2 separate regions of the Homo sapiens genome follow, and region 2 is linked to region 1. The links are contacts of gene promoters, found by promoter capture Hi-C in blood cells and fetal thymus (Javierre and others, 2016). All regions are on one chromosome and are shown on one strand. The core of a region is centred on a gene start or on the middle of the fragment in contact, and the rest is flanking DNA. Distances in the headings are between cores, read along the strand shown. Region 1 holds the start of BEST1 (bestrophin 1). Region 2 overlaps FADS2 (fatty acid desaturase 2).

The links. The method cuts DNA at HindIII sites, captures the fragments that hold promoters and counts their contacts. A CHiCAGO score of 5 or more calls a contact.
Region 2: a contact is called between a fragment that was not itself captured here and the fragment with the promoter of BEST1 in region 1, in 1 of 17 cell types (neutrophils). The highest score is 5.6, in neutrophils.

The regions. Positions count from the first base shown.
Region 1 is chr11:61,944,243-61,951,672 of GRCh38, reverse strand. BEST1 (bestrophin 1) reads right to left here and starts at 1,322. Exons shown (of 11, transcript NM_004183.4): 1 at 1,246-1,322. It also overlaps a transcript of RAB3IL1 not described here. RefSeq lists a silencer at 5,461-5,624. The HindIII fragment of the contact is 17,311 bases long and covers 1-7,217 here.
Region 2 is chr11:61,850,785-61,858,214 of GRCh38, reverse strand. It overlaps FADS2 (fatty acid desaturase 2), which reads right to left. Exons shown (of 12, transcript NM_004265.4): 6 at 1,144-1,204; 7 at 685-761. Among named protein-coding and RNA genes, the nearest start is that of MIR6746, 24 kb to the left of the region's middle. RefSeq lists an enhancer at 721-1,222. The HindIII fragment of the contact is 6,600 bases long and covers 2,881-7,430 here.

The sequences.
Region 1 (7,430 bases), core at 73-2,572:
AGGGACCCTAGGAGGTGGATGAAGTGGTCTCCAAGGCCCTGCCAGTTCTGACTGCCTTTTGGAAGTAGAAACGCAAGAAAGTGAGCCCAGAGGCTGCCCTTTGCTTTGGCAGGGAAGACGTAGATAGGCGTGTGCATTGCCATGTGCCTTTAACTTTCTATAATCACTGGGCGCAGTGGCTCATGCCTATAATCCCAGCACTTTGGGAAGTCGAGGCAGGTGGATCACCTAAGGTCAGGAGTTCGAGACCAGCCTGGCCAACATGGTGAAACCCTGTCTCTACTAAAAATACAAAAAAATTATCCAGGCGTGGTGCGGGTGCCTGTAATCCCAGCTACTCAGGAGGCTGAGGCAGGAGAATCGCTTGAACCCAGGAGGTGGAGGTTGCAGTGAGCTGAGATCACGCCATTGCACTCCAGCCTGGGTAAGAAGAGCAAAACTCTGTCTAAAAATAAATAAATAAATAAATAAATAATACAATGACAAAGGCAGTAACAGCAGCAATGTCTACACACTAAGCTCAGGTCCTCTGGGCTAGGCAGTGTTCTCAGCCCATCTTGTTCGTTAGCTCCCAAGCTCTCTCAACCACCCTAGTGTGAGAAGTATGGAAGGGACCAGGCAGCCCTGTCCACCACCATATTCCCATTCCCATAATGGAACCTAGCTGGTAGAGATGCTCAAATGATGTTTACTGAATGGTGGCTCCAGGGCCTTTCCACCTGCTGATCTTCCTGCCTGGAGGAAGCTCTTCCTGAGATACCTGCATGGTTCCTTCCCACTCCAGGTTCCCTTTAGAAAGGATGTTCCCAACCATCCAACCTGGAAATAGAGCCCCACTGCCACCGGTGCTCTGTGTCTCCTCACCTTGCTTGATATTTCTAGAGAGCACTTATCACTACTTGAAATTATACAGGATATCTGCCTGTTTCCTGCCTGTTTCCTCCTCAGAATGGAAGCTCCTCTTGTGTTCTCGTAGAAGGCGCTCAATAAAAATTTACTGAAGCAGTGATTGATGCCCCCTCCATTCTTTCCCTGTGTGTTTTGCTGCAGCCACACTGGCTGGCTGTGCCTGATGCACACCAAGCTCATTCCCACCTCAGGGCATTTGCACAGACACACAGGTGCCCACACACCTGCGCATGTGCTGCCTGTGTGTGCATATCCCACACAAATACGCAAGATGGCCATCCAACCCTGAAGGCCTCAAAGCCCCAGCCCAGTCCACCTGGGGCACCTTGTACTCACAGGTGGGGTTCCAGGTGGGTCCGATGATCCCACAGAAGGTCTGGCGACTAGGCTGGTGGGACTCCCTGGGACTCTGTGGCCAGTGCCCCTGCCCACTCTTAGAGGCTGGCACTGCCCACGTGAGTGCTGAGCCGCCGTCACTTGACTCCCTAAGCCAGGACCTCCACAAAGGAGTCCTTGTCTTAGTCCCTTCTTGTAATCTGCTCAGAAGCAACGGCTAGCACAGCCTGGCCATGGCCCCTCTAATTTCTTCTTGGAGGGTGTTGGGCTGAGACCAGGGCTGGAATTTAGGGCAACACCCCCTCTACCATGGCCCTAAAATCCAGAGGCTAAAGGATCTGCTCCACCAGTGTTCTGACCCCTGAGGCCTTGCAGAGAGAGTTGGGGGTTAGGGGGCTGTGCTGAGCTTCAACTTCTGTGCCAGGAACTCTCCAGGAAGGAGGAGCCTCTGACTAGGCCCTGGGGTCTTTGACAGCCCTGTGGGCTATGGAAAGAATGAATACCGGGCTGCAGTCAACAGTCCTGGTTTCTGGTCCCAGCCTTGCCACCTGTGTGTGGTGACCCCGGGTAGGTTTCAGCTCCTCTCTCAGCCTCAGTGCCCTTATCTGAAAAGGATGGTGTTGCTTGGGAATTTCATCACCCTAGTAAAATGACAGAATTCTGCATATGCTGACGAGGAGCTCTGATTGGCTGCTGGTGACATCATACGTTATTCTGGCTGTGATTGGCTGGCAGGGCCCATCAGTAAGTTGCTTCAGAGAGATGGAAGGAGAAGCCTGCCGGGGCTGGTGGAGGGGGGTGAGTCTGGTGGGGGTTGACAGAACAGCCCTGGAGTTTATGCTGCTGGCTTCCAGCCAGCCAGTGCAATATGGGAATAAATGCCCAGATCCCCACGGGCAGCTGGTGAAAATCTCAGCATGTGATTCAATAAATTTTAATACATCAATCCATACTCAAGGGCTCTCCTAAGCTGTTGGAAGTGGTGGGTGTCTACCTACACACTCCTCTTGTATTGTTCAATGAAGAGAGCAGAGCTCTAGGCAGCAGTGGTTCTTGGTCTTTAGAGGCCGTAAGAATCGCCCAAATGTTTATTAAACGGGCAGTTTTCTGGATCTTTCTCCAGAGTCTGAGTCTGTGGCCTTAGGGATGTTGCATTTTAATCAAGCACTGCAGGGGATTATGAGATGTGTGGTTTTGGGACTAAACTTCCAGAAGCCCTGATTTTATAATATGACCTTGTGTCTTAAACCCACTCTCATCCTCCCTTTCCTGTCACCCTCTCTCTCTGAAATGTACTAAGCGTTAACTATGCTGAGATTGCAGGTGATTTTTCTACACACCACTTTTTTTTTCACTTTAAGTTCTGGGATACGTGTGCAGAATGTACAGGTTTGTTACATAGGTATACATGATGTGCAGGTTTGTTACATAGGTATACGTGTGCCATGGTGGTTTGCTGCACCTGTCAACCCATCATCTAGGTTTTAAGCCTTGCGTGCATTAGGTATTTGTCCTAATGCTCTCCCTCCCCTTGTCCCCCACCCCCACACACCATTTTTGCCTTTATATAATTATCTGCCTAGAAAAAAAAACACTATTTCGCAATGACCTTGAATACTTTTCTAATCATGGCAAACAATAAAGCTGTTGTTATTATAAGACTCTCTTTAGAGGCAGCCTTGTAGGAGTATTTACTGCCTCCCCGCTGCCCCATCGCTGTCCTCAACTGATATGGGGAAAGAAGCAGGTTCACTTCAGCCTCAGTCTCCTCATATGCAAAATGGGACAACGATGCCTACCTTGGCAGCCGAATGAGAATGATGGATGGGACATGTGTCCGTCAACTCTCCAAACCACTGGTGCCTGTGCCTGACCCCTACGAATTCTGATTTGATTGGTCTGGATGGACCCCAGGTGTTGGGATTGTTCAAGTTCTCCAGGTGATTCTGATTTTATGGCCTGTGCTGAGTCATTGCTTAATGGATTATTTCCCTATCCTGTATTCCCTTCCCAACCAACACATCCTGAAACTCAAGAGCTTTCCATTTAGAAGATGATAAATATATATTATATATATTTATATATTAACATATGTAAATATGTATTAATATGTCTATAATATTACAAATATATTTGTATGTACACATATATTTATACATATAAATATATAAGTAAATATATAACTATATTTTTGAGACAAGGTCACCCAGGCTGGAGTGCAATGGGTGTGATTTTGGCTCATTGCAACCTCCACTTCCCAGGCTCAAGCAATCCTCCCATCTCAGCCTCCCAAGTCGCTGGGACTACAGACGCACACCACCACACCCAGCTATTTTTTTTTTTTTTATAGAGATAGGGTCTCACTACATTACCCAGGCTGGTATTGAGCTCTAAGTTCAAGCAGTCCTCCCACCTAGGCCTCCCAAAGTGGTGGGATTACAGGAGTGAGCCGCCACACTCGGCCAATAAGTATGTTTTAACTAAAGTTAACACACATGCCTGGCACCATGCCTGGAACATTGATGCTCATTCTGTACTCTCTGAAGGAATAAATGAAAATCCTGCCTTTGTGGAGACAAGTTCTTGCCTTCCCTGTGGTGGCCACTAGAGAGCGTGCTTGACTAGCTGGCTCTGGCTGGGGAAGCCTGGTTCACTGGTCAGGATCAGTGCAGACCACGGAGCTGGCACTGCTTCATCTCCCTGACCCCGACCAGCAGCCATAGAGCCATGAGAGGGAGTTGGAGACACTAGAGTCCCTCCTCCCTGTTCCCTGAACCGCAGGCTCCTTGGCAATATCCCAGGAGTACCACCAGGACCATAGACAGTGCATGGCCAGTCTCCCTTCCCCTCCCAGAGGCCCCAGCATGTCCCCAGAGACATCCCATGAGCAGCTGCTCCTGGCCCTGCCCCAGAGCTGAGACAGGCACACCCTGGCACAAGTCATGGTCTCTCCTACTGGGTCTCAGCTATGAAAATGTCCCCAGTTAGCCAGGCACGGCTCAGGCACACAGCAAAGTCATGAGTGCTGATTGACCCAAGCCATGCCTGGAACAAGAGTCCCAGGATTGACCCCTGCAGAGATGGCACCCAACCCAGTCAAGGTCGCCCTCTTCTGCTTTCCGTTCCGCAAAGAAAATATTCGCCAAACCATTTCTCCTTCCAGAACTGAGCCTAATCTGATTCCTGCCTGTACGTATTCATAGTCAAAAAATTTGGAAACACTTAAATAACAACTCTAACACAGAATGGCAAGGCCTAAGATCTGTGCCAAGTGCACAGAGGTCAGGGAAATTTTTACAGACAATGGGGCATTTCGGTTGGGTCTTGAAGCATGAGTAGGAGTTCATGGAGCTGAGAAGAATGGAAGAGCATTACACATCAGGGGAACAACCTACGGAAAGTCATAGAGCTATTCCTGAAGGATGATTCAGTATCGCATGTTTATCCACATTTTACAAAGGAGGACACTGAAGCTCAAGGCCTGCCTTGTCCAAGGTCACACAGCTATAAATGGCTTGAGACTAGGATCTAGGTCTTTTGATTTTGGATCCTGAGCCCTTTCCCACTATCAGCTCTACAGTAAAGGTCAGTTTCTGAGAGGTAGAGTCTTACCTGCTAGGGTAGTGGTCTCTCTTGGGGTTGAAGGGAGGTCCAAAGGATGGGGCCTGCATGAAAGATACTTTTTTTTTTTTTTTGAGACGGAGTCTCGCTTTGTTACCCAGGCTGGAGTGCAGTGGCATGATCTTGGCTCACTGCAACATCTGCCTCCTGGGTTCAAGTGATTTCCGGCTAAGTATTGTATTTTTAGTAGAGATGGGGTTTCACCATGTTGGCCAGGTTGGTCTTGAACTCCTGACCTCAAGTAATTCACCCGCCTCGGCCTCCCAAAGTGCTAGGATTGCAGGCATGAGCCACTGTGCCTGGCCGCATGGAAGAAACTTTGACTGCAGCAGATTCCAAGCTCTCGAGCTCCCCAGCAGAGAGCCATCTCTTGGGGCAGCAGGGCAGAGCTGGGGAGATGCGCGGGGGTGCCAGACACAGAATGCTATGGCCTTCTCATCTAGAATTACCATAGCAACAGGAGCATCACAGAGGGCCTGCCTCGGTGCCCTTCTAGGCCCTGCCTCAGCTGGGCAGGAAGAAGGAGACCCAGCTTGGCTGGGGGCAGTAGGCAGGGGGCCCCGGGGTAAGTCAGCCAGGCCTGGATGCTGCCTCCAGGCTTTATGTGGGACACCTGCCAGCCCACACCCCTCTCTTGGGCCAGTCACAGAACAAATAGGGCAGAGGCCAAGAAAGAAAAGGAGGGGGCTTGGCATAGCTGGACAGGGGTGCTGGGGGACACTGCCAGTCCAGGGCCCGGAAGCCAGACAGACAACAGCACCTCCACCCTGAGCTCAGGCAGCCCTGATCCCTGAAGGACGGAGTAAACTCAACATTCAAAGAGATAGAAACATAAGCCCTGGGCACCACAGAAAGACGACAGAAACCAGGAGAGGCTGGGATACACCTAGGTCCAACTTCATCAAACCCAGTCCTGCCCATGACAACGGAATAGCATGGAATAGACCAGAGCTGGACCAACTAGAGACACAAGGCAAGAGGATCCACTGTGCTGCGAGGTCCCCCATGGACTCTGCCAGGCTGCAGTCGGCCAGGTGAGGCACTGACCACTATCCACCTTCCACCCACCCCCACCCCTCCAGCTCAGAACTGGGGCTCGTGGCAGGTGGGTAGCGGAAAGGACATCATGGGTCAGGCTTCTCCTAGACAACTGTGCAGGGCCTGGATGCTGTCAAAGGTTCACACCCAGTGAGTAGCCTCAGTGTCTTCAGCTCAAATGGGCATGTTGAGTTTGACGTGCTGTGAAAGAATGGTAAGTTTCTAGTCCAGCTGCTCATTTTGCAGACAAAGAAACTGAGGCACAGAGAAGGAAAATGACTTGCCTGAAGTCACAGTAGGCCGCCTGTCTAGGTGAGTGCAGCAACTCCCCGCTGCCCCAGGATGCTCCTGCGGTTCGCTTCCACGGCGAGCACTGAATGCCGACCGACCGTGTTTAGCGCTGCGGTGGCCACTGTGAGAGGGAAAGAATAGTAGAAACAATCAGTTCTCCCCATCTTGACCACTTACCAGGTGTCAGGCAGTGCACTAAGCGCTCTTTAGAAATGTCATCTACTCATCAAAACAACCCCTGGGGAAGAGGAAGGGTCATCCATCTGTCAGGTGGATGGATGTTGGAGAGGACGGCACAAGGGTAGGCTAGATGAGGAGTAAGCCACATTGGCCCCTATCTGTCAGGTCAATGGGCTGACGGCAGGCTGCCTTAGCTGCCTTTCCCTGCCTCAGATGCAGACTGGCTGGGCTTCCACAGCTACAGCCTTCTCCACCCATGCTAGGGCTACCAGACTTAGCCAATAAAACTACAGGCCAGGCCAGGTGTGGTGGCTCCTACCTGTAATCCCAGCACTTTGGGAGGCTGAGGCGGGTGAATCACGGGAGGTCAGGAATTCAAGACCAGCCTGGCCAACATGGCAAAATCCCGTCTCTACTAAAAATACAAAGATAAGTAGCCAGGCATGGTGGCGCATGCCTGTAATCCCAGCTACTCGGGGAGGCTGAGGCAGGAGAATCACTTGAACCCGGGAGACAGAGGTTGCAGTGAGCCAAGATTGCACCATTGTACTCCAGCCTGGTTGACAAGAGCGAAACTCCGTGTCCAAAACAAAAACAAACATTAGATGACATCCTGGCAAAACAACTACAGGACAGTCAGGCAAATAAGAACTTCAGATAGAAAAGTGAATAATTTTTAGTGTAAATATGTCCCGGGGGAGGGGCCCGGGAGCATCGTCCTTTTTTCTGTGGTCCCTCTGCTTTGCTGATTTGCTTAATTGGTCCATTCCTTCCTGCTGCTGACTTCTAGAACCTGGCTTCTCAAACTGAGGTCTGGGGCCCAGTTACATCATTTGGAAGCTTGTTACCAATGCAGAATCTGCCCTGGTGCAGTGGCTCACACATACAATCCCTACATTTTGGGAGGCTGAGGTCGGATGATTGCTTGAGCCCAGGAGTTTGAGGCTGCAGTGAGCTATGATCACACCAGCTCAGAACTGCAGTCCAGACTAGGTGACAGAGCAAGACCCTGTCTCAACAAAGGAGGGAAGGAAGGAAGGAAGGAAGGAAGGAAG
Region 2 (7,430 bases), core at 4,931-7,430, 98 kb after region 1:
CTCTGTCTCAATAAATAAACAAATAAACAAAATAATTTTTTTAAAGAGGGATATTTGGACACAGATACAGATACAAATATGCAGAGAGATGATGTACCGAGAGGGAGGACGAAAGCCATCAACCAGCCGATGAGAGGCCCAGAACAGAGCCTTCCAGAGCCCTAAGGAATCCACCCTGCTAACACCTCAGTTTTGGACTTCCGGTCTCCAGAACCGGGAGAAAACACATCGCTGCTGCTTATGCCACTCAGTTCGTGGTGCTTTGTCATACGGTCTTCGCAAACGACCACACCTGTCATCTCAGCCAACGCCCAGCTGCTCCAACTTCAAACCAGGGTGTGGGGCAACCCAGTTCATGGGACTCAGGGCCCACAGGGAGCGGGGAAGGGAGATGGCCACACTTGCCTCTCATCCTGCTGCCTTTGAGAACTTTCTCGGGGGCTCTGCAAAAGCAGGGGCTGCCCCAGTGGACTCCCTATGTCTGAGGGAGAGTAGAGATCTTTAGGACTAGGTCCTGGTGGCCCCAGAGGGAGTCCTTTCCTGAGAGGCAGCTACCCCAGGGAGGAGATGCCTGGGGCCCCACAGGCTCCACTGGGGCACACGAGGAGGCAGCGTAGGACCCCCGGGTCCCCCTGTCCCAGTCACCCTCCTCCCCATGCCAAGCCAGCTGTGTCCCCAACTCACCACCCAGTTCTTATGGACGATCATGGTCATGATGATCTGGTACTGGAAATACATGGGGATGAGCAGCGGCGGCCCAACTGCAGGAGAGAGACAGGCGCTTAGAGGCATCCATTCCACCCTGCCTGTGCCGGAAGGTCAGGGGAACCCAGGCCCAGCACTGAGTGCAGGGGCCAGCCCTGCAGACGTGGGCAGAAGCAGCCAGGGACCCCGGGGCCTGCAGAGAAGGCTGGGAGCCCTTGAGGACGTGTGTCACCCCTGGGACTCTCTGAGCCTCTGTGTCCCCATCAGGCCTGTAACACAGGCTGAGGGGTCTGCACAGCAAGGCTGCTGTGGCCCCCGCTTCTAACAAGTTTAGTGTCACTTTCTGGATCTGAAAAAGATGTCAGGTAGGAGGGAGAGACACGCCACTCTGGGGGGAGGGGAGGGTCCCAGAGTGATTTCGGGGCGCCGAGCACTCACTCAGGAAGAAGTATTCGTGCTGGTGATTGTAGGGCAGGTATTTCAGCTTCTTCTTGCCGTACTGAGGAGAGAGGAGAGATCATGAGCACCCAGTAGCCTCAGCTCCCAGCCTCCCATGTTCCCCAACCCATCCTGCAGCCACCATCCCTTCTATCTGCTCAGGGCACACCACTGTCCCTTTCCTGTCAATCTGCACCCTGGGCCCACCAAGCCTGGGGCCCCTCCAGCCCTCTGGGCTCCCCATGCTACAGCCAGCAGCGGCCAACGCTTCCTCAGCCCTAGCCGAGCACTGGCCCGATGGCATCGATCCTCTACAAGGCCGGCACTTCTGAGGCTGAGGCTCAGCGTTAAGCCATGGCCCAAGGCCACAGGAAGTGGCCCTGACTGGGATCAGAACCCAAAAAGCTGACTCTGAGCCCATGTGACAGGCACTAAACAAATGTTTGTTGAATGAATGTGCAACAGAGCAACTCTCGGCGGAGCATAAGCACCCAGGGGAGTTCCTAGGTCACCATGGAGAGCTCCCGGAGCCCGCAGTGGCAGGGAGAACCTAGGTAAGGGCCCCAGAATTGCTGCCAGTCATCAGGCTGGGAGCATCTGCCTCCCTGGAGCCTCCCTGTAATTTACAAGAGTGAATCACTCCTCCCCAGCTGGAGCCTAACCTTGAGGACAGAGGAGGCCACAGCACAGACTCCTCAGGCCACATCTGGCTACCTGAGGTCCCCATGACGGCACCGGTTTCTTCCCCATCAGAGCCTGCACCTTGGGCAGCCTGATGCCCAGAGGCTCTAATGGAGGAGGGCTGGGCTGGGTCCTGGGCATCGTCATTGTCCAATGCCAGGCATAGGAACCACGGCCCCAGGGGATCCCTGGAGCCCTTAATTCCATGGTCCAGCCCCTAGGGACCAGCCCACCCTGCACTTCCAGGACTGAGACCAAAAGATGCCGCTCACTGAGTGACACCTGCTCCTCTCCCTTGCAGTGTGGGGAGGCTGGGCTTGCAGCCAGCAGATGCGCTTGAGCCGACTCTGCCTCTCACCAGTGCTGAGACTATGTGAGTCGCTTAGCCTTGCTGAGCCTTGTCTGGCATTTGAATCAGTGGTTGGTAAGAGGAGCCAATGAGAACATGGGCATAATGCCAAGTGCTGACCCCAGGACACTGCCCGTCACCCTCCCTATACCCCTGGATCCGAAGGCCAGAGATGCCTCCTCCTATAGTGTCCAGTCATACTTATTGCAGTCAGGAGGTCAAAGTGAGTTACAGAGGGAAGGGACCTTGGATGATGCCTAGGCCAGTGCCCCTCTCATCCAGGTGAGTAAAATGATTGTCCAAATCACAGGGAGAGCATGGATTCCTGAGGGAAGAGGCTGTGGGTGGGAACCAGGTCCACCCTGTCCCCAAGGCTTGCATCTTGGCGCCAATGGCCATGGTCACGGCACAACCAGCTGAAGAACCCCCAGAAACAGTCCCTTTGTTCTGTGTGGCCTCCTGAGCCTTGGCAAGGATCTCACTCATTCCCAGAAAGGACGGCCACTTGCAGGAAGACTATTATTAAGGCCAGGGCTGAGGCCGGCCATGGAGAGGTCCGAGCCAGGGAGGCCTCACAGGAGCCTTTCATGAGTCTCCAGTGGACGGAGTTGCTGGAGGAGCCAGCACTGCAGACGTTGCTCTCGAGGTGGCCAGTCTCGGGGCCTGCAGTGGCCCACAGAACAGGCCCCTGAGTCCTGCTCTAAGCTTCTCCCAGAGGCCAGGGAGCAGGCTCATAGCCCCAGCCTTGGCATGCAGTGTCTCCAGCTCTGCTCAAGAGCTCCTCCCCACCGCATCTCTGTCCCACAGAGCATCCCATCCCTCTCGGGCTGGGCCGGCTGTACTCGGAAGTGAGCACAGAGGGCAACCCAGGCAGGTCAGCAGGGGCCAGGGCATCCTATGGAGGGACTGAGGGCTGGCCACGCTGTTGTGGGGGCCTGGGAGGCACCTGGGGAGTCTGTTTGGAGCTGCATGTGCACAGTAGGCACCCTGTTCTCATGGGTGATGGTGGCCTGTGGGTGGACAACACAGGTTACAGGGGCTGCCTCTGCTGGTAAGCACTGCTGGCTTTAGTGTGCGTCCCTTCAATGCCCCAGAATGACCCTCGGGAGCCAGGGGGTCCTGCTTGCCAGGCAGCAGCAGGCCTCAGAGTGGGCCTCTGTGGGACGGTGAGCAAAATGCTCATCACAGTCACGCACGTGTATGTACATGCGTATGGTGACATACCACTACACATCTGTGCCCATCTCGATGGCCTCAGCTGCAGCGGCTCTGCTGGGGGATGGCCAATACTCCCCTCCCAAACCAGAAAGTACAACTGTGGGTTTGGGATACGAAGCCCTGCCCTGTGGCTAACTCTCTGCTCTCATCTTTCCCACGCTCAGTTCTTTGCCAGAGCTTTGCCGTTTAAGTCATGGGACCAGGGAAGGGAGGGAGAGGTATTTTAGAATGTAGCAAGCTAGGGGGGTGAGTGCCTGGCTGTTTAATTGATCAGAAAGCTGGGGCTACCCAACAAACATATTTCACAAGGGCCCCCAGGACTCCGAAGCTGTGGTTTGCAGCCAGATGGTTTGGGTTCGGACAGTGGTGTTGCCTTTTCCTTGCTGTTACCTTGAACAAGTCACTTCATGTCTCTTGGCCTTAGCTGTTCCATCCATGAAATGGGTCGATGACAGCTCCCGCCTCACGGGTTAAGCAAGGATTAAGTGACGTTGTGCACGCACACTGCCCATCACAGTGCCCGGTCCACAGACTCACTCAACAAGAGTCAGGCTTCTTCCCAACTGGGGGCTCAGAGCCCCAAGTGTGGGGAGTGGAGGACCCCACACATCTCCTCCTCCAGAGGAGTCCCCGTCACACACACAGAGAAAGCCCAAGAGGCAAGGAAGACACATGACTTTCACCTGGCTGGGCTGCGGCCAAGGGTGTGGGTGGCACACATGGACCTCCCCCTGATCAGCAACAGTGCCTTCCCAGGCTGCGGTTGACAGGCAGAGACGCAGGCCAGGGGCAAGGGAGGGAGTGCAGCCAGCCCTGGCGGCGGGGCTGACTCTCCTGTCCTCGGCCTCTCCATGCACCTCAAGGCCAGGCTTGGATGAGGGCCTGGGGGATGCCGGGCCATGTGGAGGGGACCTTTCAGCTTTGGAACAAAATGTCTGAGGAATGACAAGGGCCCTCCTTGTCCATCGAGGGTTGGGGGAGGGGAGCTGTCGCAAAGCCCAGTCTCTGCCTCTGGGAACCTGCAAACTCACACACAGAGAGAAACAGGCGGCACGACCTCCCCAGCAGGAGCAGAATGGCAAGGTCCCAGTCCAAGGTCCCCGAGAGGGCGGCATGTGTGTCCCAAGGCGGGATGGGTGGCTTAAGCCTGTTCATGAAGGTCTGCCTCAAGCAGGAAGCCCAGGAGGTTAGCTTCAGACAGTCAGAGCAGCAGAGGTGGTTTCCCGGATGGGAGGAGGAGGAGGATCTCAGGCACCGCACGGCTTCTGAGGCCCCTTTACACTGCTACCGGGATAATGGTCTCACCAGCCCCCTCAGAAAACGGGGATATGGCAAAAGAAGAACAAAACAAGGCTGCTGCCAATATCACCGCTATTAAACTCAGCTCTGAAATTTCCCGTCAATGCAATAAAACCCAAAGCAGAAAACAGAGTGGAGCTATTAGAAAGAAAGAGACTACTTCAACATCCAGATTAGAAAGAAAGAAGGAAAGGAAGGAAGGAAGGAAGGAAGGAAGGAAGGAAGGAAGGAAGGGAGGGAGGGAGGGAAGGGAGGGAGGGAGAGAAAGAAAGAGAGAGAGAAAGAAAGAAAGAGAAGAAAGAAAGAGTGACTACACTTTTTTTCTGTTTGTTTTGTTTTGTTTTGTTGTTGTTGTTGTTGTTGTTGTTTTGAGACGGAGTCTCACTCTGTCGCCCAGGCTGGAGTGCAGTGGTGCTATCTCAGCTCACTGCAACCTCCGCCTCCCAGGTTCAAGCGATTCTCTTGCCTCAGCCTCCAGAGTAGCCGAGACTACAGGCGTGTGCCACCATGCCCAGCTAATTTTTTGTATTTTTAGTAGAGACGGTGGTTTCATTGTGTTAGCCAAGATGGTCTCGATCTCCTGACCTCGTGATCCGCCAGCCTCGGCCTCCCAAAGTGCTGGGATTACAGATGTGAGCCACCACGCTGGGCCGAGAGACTACGTTTTCATTATTTTCTAGGATATGATCATCTACCCAGGAAACTCAAAAGAATCAACCGAAACACAACTAGAATTACGAAGAGACGTAAGTGGACACTAGCGGGACAAAAGATAACTATCCCATTCATTGGAAGGCCATGCAAACAAAAATTTAGAAAAAAAAGAAAATTAAGATAACTACCCCAATATCCACTGCTTTCCCGAGTACTGGAGAACCTCCAATCATAATGACAAAATATAAAACATATAAGGATTGCGTTTTAAAAGAAACATCCATGAGACATATAAAGAAGTACAGACCTTGGCCGGGCACAGTGGCTCATGCCTGTAATCCCAGCACTTTGGGAAGCTGAGGTAGGCGGATCACTTGAGGTCAGGAGTTCGAGACCAGCCTGGCCAACATGGTGAAACCCCATCTCTACTAAAAATACAAGAATTAGCCGGGCATGGTGGCGGGTGCCTGTAGTCCCAGCTACTCGGGAGGCTGAGGCAGAACGATGGCTTGAGCCCAGGAGGTTGAGGCTGCAGTGAACCGAGATTGCGCCACTACGCTCTAGCCAAGGTGACAGAGCATGACCTTGTCTCAAAAACAAAAACAAAAACAAAAAGAGAGAGAAAGAGAAGGGGAAAGGCACCCCACTACGAGCTTCCAATGAGTTAAGTGCCAAGGATGAATGAGTGTGAGTGTGGCCCCCAAGTCATCCAGACGGTGGCCTGGGAGAGGACAGACAGCCCAGCCCAGGCCAAGCCCGGGCTCAGGAGCACTCACTGCCTCATATGAAGAAGCAATGCCACCTCATGGGGGTGCCGGGAAAACTGGCCGACTCTGGAGAAAAGTGAAGGCCGAACATCATCCTACCCATATCCCATTTGGCAGAAGTTAAAGATTGAAACACAAAACCTTAAAGAACTGAAAATAATATGTATGAAGAACTTTCTAAGCACACAAGAAATGAATCTCTGGGTAAAGTGAATATACTTTGCTACATATGACAAAAAGAATCCTCCTGGACAGCATCAATAAGACCAAAATGCAGAAAACGAGGAAAAGGGCTTTACTGCGGAGCCCGCGCTATTCACAGTTCCACGTGCTGGGAGCCGCTTGGCAGGGCTGCTTTGCTTATCTGTCCCCAGAGATAGAAGCCCTGGCCGGCATCCTTGCTCTGGAGACTGGGATGGTGGCTTGAGGCCCTGGGACCTGGCCGCCCCACCTGGCCCTGCTGTGGTGTGTGGGACTGGCATGTGACAAGTCCCATCAGACCCACTGTCACTTCAGTCAAGAGACCAGGGTTCCTTCCAGGGCGGCCGGGTCCTGCGAGAGCCAGAGCACAGGTCAAAACACCAGGAACCCAGGAAGCACCAATCCTTTCCCCATGAGTGTGAGAGCGGGGATTTCCACAGAACACCGCGGCACTGGCTGGGGACTTCCAAACGCCGCTGGTAACTGAACAACCAGATCCTCACAGCCTCCCACCCCTATCTCCTGCCCCAAAGCCAGCGTTCCAGAAGTGTCGGGGGTGAGAAGATGTCGGGAAAGGAGAGGCTTCTCTGGCCACCACGCACAAGAAAGACGCCTTCTTGCCAGTGCAGCTGGTGGGACTAGACTTTCTTTGTTGGAGACACAGAGAACATCTGTCAGGACAGCCAACGGCTCTACATTACAAAGCCTCGCCGAGAAAATGAAGCCTTTGTCCCCACTTATCAGAGGGCCTCAAGTTCATCAGTTCTGTTTTCTAGACACCTCTAATTAAAGCTGGCAAACTGTTTCCTAGAAGAATAACAATAGCCTGTACTTTGGCAGAAAATGGAATCCCTGGCAGCTTAGAGAGGCTTCCAAAGTACAGAACTGTGGCTGATTTCCTGCGAATTGGCCATGTTACAGAAAAATCCACGTTCCTGCTCAGATAGTCTCACGGGTGGAAATGAAATAAGAAGAGGGTGTACAAACCAGAACTGGGGAGCCAGGCTGTCTCCTCGCCTTGTTCCAAGCCTTAGGCGCCAAGGCTGTCGGGAATACTACTTCACTCACGGTGCCACTCCTTAGTGAGGGAAAATTGGCCTCACTTGGCAGATGCTGAT